2 separate regions of the Homo sapiens genome follow, and region 1 is linked to region 2. Evidence: promoter capture Hi-C in 16 types of primary human blood cells and fetal thymus (Javierre and others, 2016). All regions are on one chromosome and are shown on one strand. Each heading gives the region's core, a stretch centred on a gene start or on the middle of the fragment in contact. The rest is flanking DNA. Distances are from core to core; before and after follow the strand shown. Region 1 overlaps PITX1-AS1 (PITX1 antisense RNA 1). Region 2 holds the start of PITX1 (paired like homeodomain 1).

What was found. Contacts are between HindIII fragments. The CHiCAGO score rates a contact against its expected background, and 5 or more counts as called.
Region 1: a contact is called between a fragment that was not itself captured here and the fragment with the promoter of PITX1 in region 2, in 4 of 17 cell types (M1 macrophages, M0 macrophages, M2 macrophages and 1 more). The highest score is 8.2, in M1 macrophages.

The regions. Positions count from the first base shown.
Region 1 is chr5:135,204,795-135,210,365 of GRCh38, forward strand. The region is part of intron 3 of PITX1-AS1 (PITX1 antisense RNA 1); the gene reads left to right. Among named protein-coding and RNA genes, the nearest start is that of LINC02900, 41 kb to the right of the region's middle. The HindIII fragment of the contact is 1,001 bases long and covers 3,655-4,655 here.
Region 2 is chr5:135,031,487-135,036,755 of GRCh38, forward strand. It overlaps PITX1 (paired like homeodomain 1), which reads right to left and starts at 2,742. Exons shown (of 3, transcript NM_002653.5): 1 at 2,227-2,742; 2 at 1-22. The coding sequence starts at 2,395. PITX1-AS1 (PITX1 antisense RNA 1) reads left to right here and starts at 1,788. Exons shown (of 6, transcript NR_161235.1): 1 at 1,788-2,054. RefSeq lists a silencer at 248-455 and an enhancer at 1,626-2,258. The HindIII fragment of the contact is 7,456 bases long and covers 1-5,269 here.

The DNA.
Region 1 (5,571 bases), core at 2,905-5,404, 170 kb after region 2:
CCTCTCCCTCCTCCCACCCTCCACCCTCAAGTAGACCCCAGTGTCTGTCGTTTCCGCCTTTGTGTAAAAACACTTGTCCTGTGGAAGTCATTTCAATTTTAATGCTAGCATTTTCTACCATTCCTTAGGGTTCAAGAACTCCTGCTCTCATCTATGAGAAGCTGGTCATTGGCATATTGTTAAGTATTTAGTACTTTTCTTTTAAGCATTAAAAATAGTCAAAGTTTTTACATTTTGTATCTTGGTAGAGATTACTTGTCCGAGCCGCCTTCTCTTCACCTTTACAGTTAAGAAGAGCTTTGGTGGCTGCTAACTAGGGAATCACAAAATCAGGAGATTGTCTTTCCAGTGAAGTAACCACATATTGATTCCTTCTTGGAGTGGCTGATTTGGTGTCTCCATCAGGGGTTTCTTAAGGCTTTTATTACTCAATTTCCAATAATTGCCTTTTTTTTTTCCCTAAAGGAATCTTCAAAACAACTGAAAGTAGTATAGGCAAAGATTTCTTGAACAAGTTGCTAAAACTATTAATCGTACAAGAAAATAAGCTTATACATTAGACAACATTAAACCTACAAACTTTTCCTTATGAAAAGACAGCATTAGGAAAATGAAGAAGCAAGCTACAGCATAGAAGATACTTGCAAAACCTACAACTGATAAGTGACTTGTGTATGTATATAACAACTTTTACAAACTGATAAGACAAAGAGGACAGCCCACTAGAAATATGTGCAAAAGACTTGAAAAGGTACTCCATAAAAGGATATGCAGATGGCCAAAAAATAAGAAAAACTGTTTGGCTTAATTAGTCATTGGGGAAATGCGCATTAAAAGCACAATGAGAGACACAACACATCAACAAGAATGACTAAAGTGAAGCAAAGCAACCCAGAAGATACCCAGGTGTTGGCAAGGATGTTGAACACCAGAAATCTCATACGCTTTGGATAAGTTAAACATATGTCTTCTTATGACCCAGACATTCCATTCTATGTGTACAACAAACAGAAATGCATACATATGAACCTCAAAAGACATATGGTATAATGTCCATAGTAATACCATTTGTAATAGCTCCAAATTGGAAACCACCCAAGTTCCCATCAAGAGTGCATGGGTAAGTGAATTGTGGTTTAAATTCATACTATGGAATACTATACCGTAGTGGAACTAAACAGTCCACAATTATATGTAACAATATGGAATGAATCTCACAAGTATAAAGTTGTCCTTCAATAAAAAGTAGAAACAAAACAAGGAAACCAAGGGACAAAAGTAGCTGGGTGAAAACTAGAAGCTGATGCTCAGATGGGAGGTATTCCTGTGGCTTTGTGTTTGTAACAAGATCCTCCACATTCAAAACAGGTTGGCAAGGACTTCCAGTCTTAGTTGGGCCCCCAGCCCACTGAAGGGGCCAACAGGGCCACCTGGCCAGCCTCTGAGCCGTGGTTCTGGGGCAAACAGGAGGGGGAAAGCCTTGGCCTGGATAAAATCTAAAAACAAAGACAGGGTCTCTTCACCATCAGAAGTTCTAGTTTTGAGAATTTCTTTTTGTTTTTAATTAAATTTTAATTACCCAGGCCATATAGAAATATAGTTTCTTGTAAATTTAAAACATACGATGTCTTGGGTTTGCCTTAAAATAATATAGGGCTGGGAAGTGGGTAGGCCCATGGTTGAAACAAGATTGACCATGAATTGATGATTGTTGAAGCTGGGAAATGGATACCTGGGACCTTGTTACGCTATTCTGTTTTTGCCTGTGCTTGAAATTTTCCATGATACAAAGTAAACACACGAGCATATAATTACTGCAAAGGCTAATGCCACTATAGATCGCCAAGCCTCAGCTACCAGTGCCTGCTGCTCTCTTCCTCCACTGCCCCCTCAGTGGATAACTTGAGTGTTGTCTTGGGAGGAAACAGATGGCACATTCTAACTAGGATAATTTTACTATAAGGACAAGATTGTAAAGTTGTGGGCAGGGGAATCCACAAAGCATAGTGCGGCACTCCAGGGCTTGCTACAGCAGAAAGCCTTTCTCACCTTAGGCCCAAAGAACAAGAACCTGGAAGAGGAGAGTGTGGGCACCTTGAAAGGAGCCATAATCTTTGGCTGAGGGAAGTGGCCAGTTTTTGGAGACCTCCTGGTGGGAGGACTGGGAAAATAACTACTTTTGCACCAACCTAGTAAGTATTCCAACCTCATTCTCTCCCCTTCCTTTGGTCTCCTGCTGGTGCTGCAAGGCAGCCCACTGATGCAGTTCATATAGAGCCACCTCCTGGGGCCCAGAGGGTGGATCGTGGCCCTGCAGGGGCAAGTGGAAGATATCTGATAGAGGGTGGGTCTTGTCAGATGTTTTTCCGTGCATTTACGTATGTGTCTATGAATCCAGAGACAGTATGTGGTTTTGTTTTCATTGCTTGTTTGATATCCATGGGATCATACAGCATGCTTCATTCACAACTGTGGCTCTTACTCGTCAGTGCCCCAGTGTTCTTCCTGTGCCAGTACATCAAGATCAGCCTTGTTCTGTTCTTGTGGCTGTTGCTGTTCCACAGTGTGAACATGATGTAGTTCATTTTGCCATTCCCTCTTGGCAGAACTTAAGTTGCTTCCTTCTTGAGAACTTGTTGTCTTCCCTCTGGGAGCTCTCTTGCCATCTTGGGAACATCTGGGAAGGAAGTTGCCATATGCAATATATCGTTTGCTCCCATGGAGTCTCATGCATGGCTGAAAGCTTTTTTTTTTTATTGTATATATTCTTTATCTGTCCAAACAGCCCTGATTTTTGGCAGCTGGGACTGGTAGGAAGAGAGTCAGGTGGGGAAGACAATGAGGACTAGATCAGGCACTGGAAGACTTGGGTTTGAGTTTGAGCTTTGCCACATTGTCACTTGTGACCTTGGGCAAGTCCCTTCGCCTCTCTGAACCCCAATTTTTCACCTGCAAACTGAAGATGATACTCATGCTTTCTCTGCTTGCCTTCCTGGATCCTTGTAAGGGTACCCTGAGACAAAGGATGAGAAAGTGCTTTGTGAAAATCTGCACAGATGCAGATATTCCTTCTACGCTCTGACTTGAAGTCTGGCCAGGAGACGAAGGCTTTTTGTTGTTGTTGTTTTTCTTTTTGCATGCTCCCAGCATAATCAAAGAAGTTGTTTGTTTGGTTTGGTTTTTTTGGTCTGAGTCAGAAGCCAGTAACAGTTTCAAAGTGCAAGGCTGGTGCTCCTCTCCTCCAAGCCCCTCTCTGCAGTGATGACAATGGGAGTGTTGCCAGGAAGCATACTGTCTCTCTGCCCCACCACCCCTGTGCCCTGACCCCCAGCTGTGGCCAGGCTCAGCTTCCTCGAGCGACAGGGCTACCCCAGACTAAGGACAATCTGACTCTGAACTTTTGGGCAATCTTTTCCATGGGCTAATTTGCTATAGGATTGCTCGTTTTTCCTGGAAGACCGAGTGGCTCTTAGGAGTGGATTTTTTTGTCCACACTTAGAAGACCAGCAAATGGTCTTTCCCTCTTCTGTACTCTGAATCAGAGAGGCAGTGTGTGCCAATGTCACCACCCCACAGACAAGATGACCAGCTAGGGAAGGGGTCTGTCTGTGTTCCTCACTTGTTCTGAATGCTCAGAACTCACCTTCTCCAGAAAGCTTCCTCTTGTAATGAACCACAGCTGATGTTTCTTGAGCACTTACTCTCTTCCAGGCATCATGCTAAGTGTTCTCCATGTACCATTTTGTTTAGTCCTCACCATAATCTTATTGCTGTCATCTCCGTTTTGTAGGTGAGAAAACCTAGGCCCAGAGGGTTTAAGCCACTTGACTGAGGTCACACAGTTAAAGGCAATTAGCATTCAAACCCCAGGCTCTCTAGAGGTGGCCCATGTCCTTGGACACTAAGTTCTATGCCCTCCTGGCTCACCCTGCCCTTCCCGATGTCACTCTGCCCTTGGTTGGGTTTTCTGTGTGATGACTCATAATATTTCTTACCCACATGTGCCTTATGCCCTAAAAGATAGTGAATGTATTTTCTGCTCTTTTCTCCCTCCCCAGAGTGACTGGGAAAGAGTTATGTATATAGCAGGAGCTTAGTGAATGCCAATTTCTTGTGAAAATCCCACTGGGGGTGCTGTTGGCAGGCCCAGCACACCAGGAAGGCAGCATTGGCCCTTTATGGAAGTTATCAGGAAGATGAATAAGGCTTGAAACGCGAGCCCCTGGCAGGCTGACTCAGACCCCACAGAATGGCTGGCCCTGGCCTTTGAAGAGCTGAGAGCTGTTTACATCCTACTAATGGACCTCGCTGGCTGCAAGCAGTCAATGTGGCTATATAAATACTCCAGCCTGGGGCCATGGAGTGAGTGAGGACATGAATGCGAGGAGAAACCCCCTCCTCAGCCTCATCTCCTCCTCAGTGAGGGATCCCTGGGCAGGAGAAGCCATGGGGACAGGAGGACTCTAATTTAGCAGGAAGCCCCACACGGCAGGCCTGTGCGTGGTAACAGAATGGTGTCTAGTTGATGATGTGGTATGTAGACGTTTCTCCCCACGTGAAGTTCTTTGCATAAATAAATGGTGACCAGCTGTTAGTCTTCCTATTAGCATGAACATCCATCACAGCTTGTTTCAAATCTAAGTCTGGGAGGGAGAAGCTTAGACTCCCATGAAAGGCAAATGTTACAATGGTAATCCAGCCCAGTCTGGCACACATCTGCTTAGAGAAACTCGCAAACTGGAAATGTTGGCTGGGATCTATATGGGGGGTTGGGCATGGGGTCTGATGTTCTCTGTAAGTGTCCCCACCCAGGGAGCTGCATTTTTGTCAGCAGGGAAGACGTGATGAGATCAGGCTCCCATTGGGGCCTGTCAACATGGTGCCGATGGCTGCTGTACTCTCCAGGGTGCCCTTCCCTATCTCCCACCAGTGACCCTGGCCCACAGCAGACCTTGAGAAGGTACAGGTAGGCTGGGAAGGGAAAGGTCTCCTCCCTTAGGGCTCAGACCCTGGCCTGCATGTTGTGGTCATGGACCACAGGCTGTTTGAGATGCCCTCTTCAGGGGTAGCTAGTGATAGGGCAGAATGTCACCATCGGTCCTATGGTGAGTTTTCTGGTGCCATTCTCTGTCTGTCCCACCAGTCTCTGAGAGGGAGGCAGGAGCCTGCCCTGCCTGCCCCATCCACACCTCCCCAACCAGGGAACCCCATCACTCCCTCTATTCATTGTGGATGATGGTAATTATTTTTAATATCTCTCCCTGGGAACTCAGTCATTCACCCACCCATTCTACAAACATTTATTTTGTACCTGTAGCGTACCAGGTACTAGGAATACATGGGTGAGCAGGACAGACATGGTGCCCATTTTACTGGAGCTGTTTCATTAGAGTGGGAAGGATAGTCAGATAAAGCACAAAGAGACTAAAAGACAATGGCAAGTTGTGAAGAGTGCTATTAAACAAATGGGATAGAGGGACCTAGTCTGGATACAGTGGCTTCTCTTGGGAGGTAACTCTTGAGCTGAGGCGTAAAGACTGGGATGGAACCCAGTAAGTGAGGAGCAGTGCA
Region 2 (5,269 bases), core at 1,492-3,991:
GGTTCCCCGCCGCGCTCCTTCTCTGCAGTAGGCAGGACGGGGAGCGGGTCACCTGGGCTTACGCCCCGTTGCACCCCGTCCCGGCTCCACCGAACCGCTCGCCACCAGCGCTGGCGGTCTTCCCTCCCTCCCTCCCTCTAGGGTTCCTGGGAACTGTCCCCACTGGAAAGCGCCCGCCGGGTGCTGGTCGTCAGTAGGCACCTCTAGTCTGGTGTGCCGCGGAGAAGAGCCCAAGAATCGGAGCTGGAGCCGCGGGCCTGCGTTCCTGGCTGGGCAGGGCCTGCACCCTTAGCTCGGCTCAGATTCTGACCCTGCTGCTGATGTTCCCAGCAAATGTATGCTTTTTGTTTGTTTGTTTTGCGAACTCTTAGGGGGTCTAAATCTGAGGGGGTCTCTGCTTTTCTGAACTAGGATCAGATCTCTCCAGCCTAAAGTCCCTCCACTTTCTTCTCCTCAGGGGTGTATGGGAGCCCCACTGGGCAGGCACAACACAGCCGGGTTCTCGGCCTTGCTTCCAGGCCTCCAGTCCCAAAGCCTAGAAAACCCCACCAACTGCAGCCCAGACAGACAGACTCTGTCTAGGTGACCTCGGGCTTTAGTCTGTCTCTCTTTGAAGCTACACAAAACACACGCAGTCATAGAAACATTAATACATAAAGAAAAAGAGTTTAAAAACAAAACACAGAAGCCCAGAAAAGCTCACAGCTCTATGCCTAAAGACACTGAAAGGGCCACAAATTCTCAAAATCAGACAGGAAGAAACACAGAGCAAATGTAAATTAAGAAGCCAGAAAGCTCCGTACAAACACACCCCTAACTAAATACAGAGCTGTAAGTGTATAAACTCCAGGTTGACAGAAGCATTTATTTCTCTGGGATTTAAAAAAATAATGTACCGTTGTAGATAGATTTTTAACTCCTTCCCAATAAGGCCCTTGTAGAGATAATTTTTAAATCCCAGAGAAACACATTATAGTTAGATAATTTAAATTCCCCAAATAACACCACTGTAAATGGATTTTGAGAAAATTCCGGAGAAACGCGCCATTTTGGATTGACTTTTTAAAATCTCCGGAAGAATAATGTTGCATGTAGATATTTTAAATTCCAGACCTACACTTCGTACGTTAATTCTTTCAGAATCGAAAGATACAGTTAAAATTAATTCATCCTCATAGATTTGGTTCAAAAAAATCAATATACGATTATATATCTCTCTAGGTTTTAAAAATAAAACCAACCAAAGACCGCGCTTAAAACTTTTGAAAACAAAAGTAGAGTTCAGCGTTGATTATGTTTTAACCAAGCAAACAACCTCTCAGAAAAATCACTTAGGGATGCAAAAGAGAAACAGATACTAAGAAAGTGGAGAGAAACATTCAGCTGTGTATTAAGAAATGAACGCAGAAGAGGCGCCCACACCGGGGAGCTCGGAGCCCCTCCGGAACCCGGCCGGCTGCGCTGGGCAGCGGATTCGCTGCCCCACTGCCCGCGCCGGCCACCCGCGGGCCCAGTTCGCTGCTGGAAAAAAGCTCCAGCTCGGACAAAAAAAGGCAGCGCGGAGGGAGACGCGCAGGAGCCGGGGCGGGGGCCAGAGCCGGGCTGCTCCGGGCTTCGGCCGCGCACGTGGGCCGGATCCCTTGATCGGCGTTCCGGCTGGCCTTGCTGGGAGTCCGGCCGCGCCTGTTGGCCCGCTCGCCCTCACCGTCCTCTGTGTCTCCCTTCTACTTGATGACCCCTCTCCCCCCGTTTACCCTTCCCGCCCGCCCCTTCTCTTTGGTCTCTTTCATTCTGTCGCCTACTGTCACGGTGTTAACCTCCCTCTCTGTCTCTCTGAGTGCGTTCTCTCGCCCGTCACCCCTCTTCCTTTCTCGGTCTCCTCCTCTCCCTTCGTCCGAGCCGCTCCTTAGCGCCCAGTTGCGCAAATCAAATTCTTTCCCGTTCTATTTACTCCTGATCAAGAGGGGCTGTCAGTCCAACCCTCCAGCTGTAGGCTCGTGCATCTGCCAGTCTCTTGGCGCGTGGGGACCGCGTGGAAGTGCCTTCGCGTGTGCGTAAGTTTCCGCGTTCACCGTCAGGTCGAGAACGGGAAAAAGAAAGCTCCTGACGCTTCTGGGGCGGAGAGGGAGCTTGGTTGCGCGGCGCGGGCGTCAGGCCCTGCTCCCAGCTCCCCGTGCTCCGCGCCCGGGTAGGCTCTGTGCGCGCCGCGCGGGGAACGGCGCTTACCTGGCAGCTCCGTGTCAGACGACTCGCTGGCGGAGTTCTCGAGCGGCTCGCGGGGGTCGGCGGGCCGGGCCAGGTGGAAGGCGGGCCCCATGTCATGGGGTGGCGGCGGCGGCGGCCGGAGCCCCTCCGGCAGCCGCTCCAGGCTCATGCCCCCCTTGAAGGCGTCCATGGAGGTGGGGACCGCGGCGGGCGCTCCAGGGGCCGGGGCTGGGCGCGCCCCGCCGCCCTGGCTGCGACCTGCGGGGACAAGAGCGCAGCGCCTAAGCGGCTGCCCTCCAGGGCTGCCGGCGCCTGCAGCGACGCCGTGCCCGCCCCATGGACCGCCCGGGGCTGCGGCGCCGGGCGGGCAGAGGCGGCGGCAGCTTCTCGCGACTGGGCGCCTGGCTCAGCGCTCCGCGCTGCGCTCCTGCCGCTCGGGCCTCAGCAGCCCGGCCGGCCCCGGCTCCGGCTCCGGCTCCGGCTCGCGATCCGGGGCCGGTTTCTAAGGCTCCGGACGGCGCCGGCAGAGTCTGTCTTAAAGCGACAGCGCGCACAGCCAGGTTCCAGCAGTCCCTGCGCCAGGGGTGCTGGGTGGGGTGGGCCTGGGTGGGAGGGGGCTGGGGAGGGAGCGAGCGAGCGAGGGAGCGCGGGCGGAATCCAGCCCCAAGCCGCCCGCGCCGCCGCGCCCTCACTGCCGCCCTCCCTCCCTCCCTGCCTCGCCCGCGCCCTCCCCCTCCGCAGCCACCTTCCCGCCGCCTCCCCGCCCCCCGCGGCCTCGCCGCGCCTCTCCCTCCTTCCCCGGTGACACACCGAGTTCTCCCTCGGCCTCACAAAAGAAACGCATCTGGCCTGCGAGTCCCGGGCGGCTCGTGCACACCTCAGGCCTCAAATGACTTGTTTCGCCTAGAATCAACTCCCGTCTCGGCCGCCTCGAAGTCCCCAGCCCTGGCGAGAACAGCCCAGGATGAGTGAATGTTTGCCGAACAGGATCGCACCGAGCGGGCGCCTTCGAGCCAGCGCCGGGGCGGGGGCAGAGCCCGGGGCCCGTTCCGGCAGCTCCCAGCGGTGTCCTCGTCGAGGGGCCGCCTGCCCCTCCTTCTCCAGCCTCTTCTCCCGGGAACTCAGCCCGGCTGAGTGACAGCAGCCTGCGCTCTAATGGGCCCCCGGATGCTGCCTCCTAATTAGCTTGGACCTTCTCCCCTACGGCTGCTTCTCAGGCCTCCCTCTCTGCACCGCAGTCAATTTTCCGGGATTGGGATAGAAATGATGGCTTCTAATCAGACGAAACGTTTCTGCTGGCTCTAGGCGTTTGGAGAATGCAGAAGGAAGACCCCAAGGATCCCAGCCAGACCCCACAGCCTCTTGTACCTCTCCCCTTGTTTTACACCTTAGGCCTTGGCCAAATGGGCCAGGCCTGGCCTTGGCAGGCATGGGGTTGGCCTTGGCAGCCTTTGCCCTCCTTCAGGGTAGCTTTGTCCCAGCCTGGGGCCTGCGTCCTGGCTTCCCAGGGCTTCAGGCATAGGCCTGGTAAGCCAGGTGACTGCTGTCTCCCAACCCTGGGCCAGCAGCCCAGGAAGCCCTCAGTCTTCCAGCTTCTCTCCCACACAGTGGTAGCTGAGCTGCAGCTCCAATGGGCCTTCACTGGGCACAGGCAAAGACATTACTCTCCCACTCCTAAGAGTGATTCCCTCCTCGAGTCCTTGCACGTAGGTGAAGTTTGTCGAAGGATTTTGCTCAACAATTGTTAGCTGGCCCCGAGACCTCAGCGTCTTGAGCAAACAGGCCACAGCTGGGGCGGCAAGGCGCCGCCCTGACCTGCTCCTCTGGCCATAGGCGGACCCCAGACTGCCCTCTGCCCCTCACCTGTGATCAGCTCCACCAGACACAGCAACCCAAGGGAGCTGCGCCAGGATTGTCTGCCTGGGAAAGAAGCAGGGAGGTGTCCAGTGTCCTCACCCCAAAACCCAGTGCCTCCTCAACTCCTGGGTGGGTGGCACTGACTGTGCAGGTATCAGCGTCTGGGGCACTCTGCAGGTTCTGCCTTTGAGTCCTCGTCTTACCCCTTCCCATCACAGGGAGACACCCAGGGTCAGCTGAGCTCCTTGTGGGGGCTGCTGGGGCCAGGGTCGGGCATGCAGGGTGGAACCAGGCCTGCCTTCCATTCCCTCCACGTTAGTCCAAAGCACCCCCACCCCTACCCCCATCCCCATCCCCATCCCCATCCCCATCCCCATCCCCATCCCCCGCTCTGGGCCGTGGAGAGACAGCACAGCTCCTTAGGGCCTGGTCCTTTCTCACTGTGGGTCTGTGACCACAGGATGCAGGGTCTGAGGCCAGAGGGAGGACACTTCTCAGGGGTTTGGATTGGGGAGGCTCAGTGACTCCTGCCTTCTTCCAAGCTGAGATCTCCCTCCATGAAATGAGTCTTGGCTACGGGGAGGGGAACATGGGGAAGCACAGTTGCCCAGCATTTGCCCTCAGCCCCACCGTTGCCATGTTTCTTGGCCACCTTTACCACGAGTCTCCTGCAGTAGAAGATCCCTCCTTTCAAGGAGATATTCAGGTGTTGCAGCGTGCTAGGGAGTGTCCCTTCACAGACCATTCTTTTTTTAGCTGTCTTACCAAAAAGAACAGCCTGAATGCAGACAGCATGGGGGCACGCACACACACACACATCCTGTACATCCATGCGGAGATGCTGTACACACACATGTATTCACTGCACTATGGAAGTGCTGAGTTTAGGCATATATGTGCTACTTGGCATGAACGCGGGCTGGCAGGGGATAGGAGGTGTGTTCTAACCCTGCCACATGTCAGGCCAAGGTGGGAAGCACAGTGCGTCTCTGGGTAGAGACTTAGAAATGAATGGTCTGTCTGTGGGCCTCTAGAGGAGGTTAAGACTCACAGCCTTCTCACTTGCCTTCTCACTTCCCAGAGGGACCAAAGTGACTCTTTGGGCCATCCCCCAATGGGGACTATTCTGTGAGCAGCACTCACTGCTTAGTCTGAGGGGCGTGTTTCCTCACTGTTAGTGCATTTAATGCAGTTATTGAGCACCTGC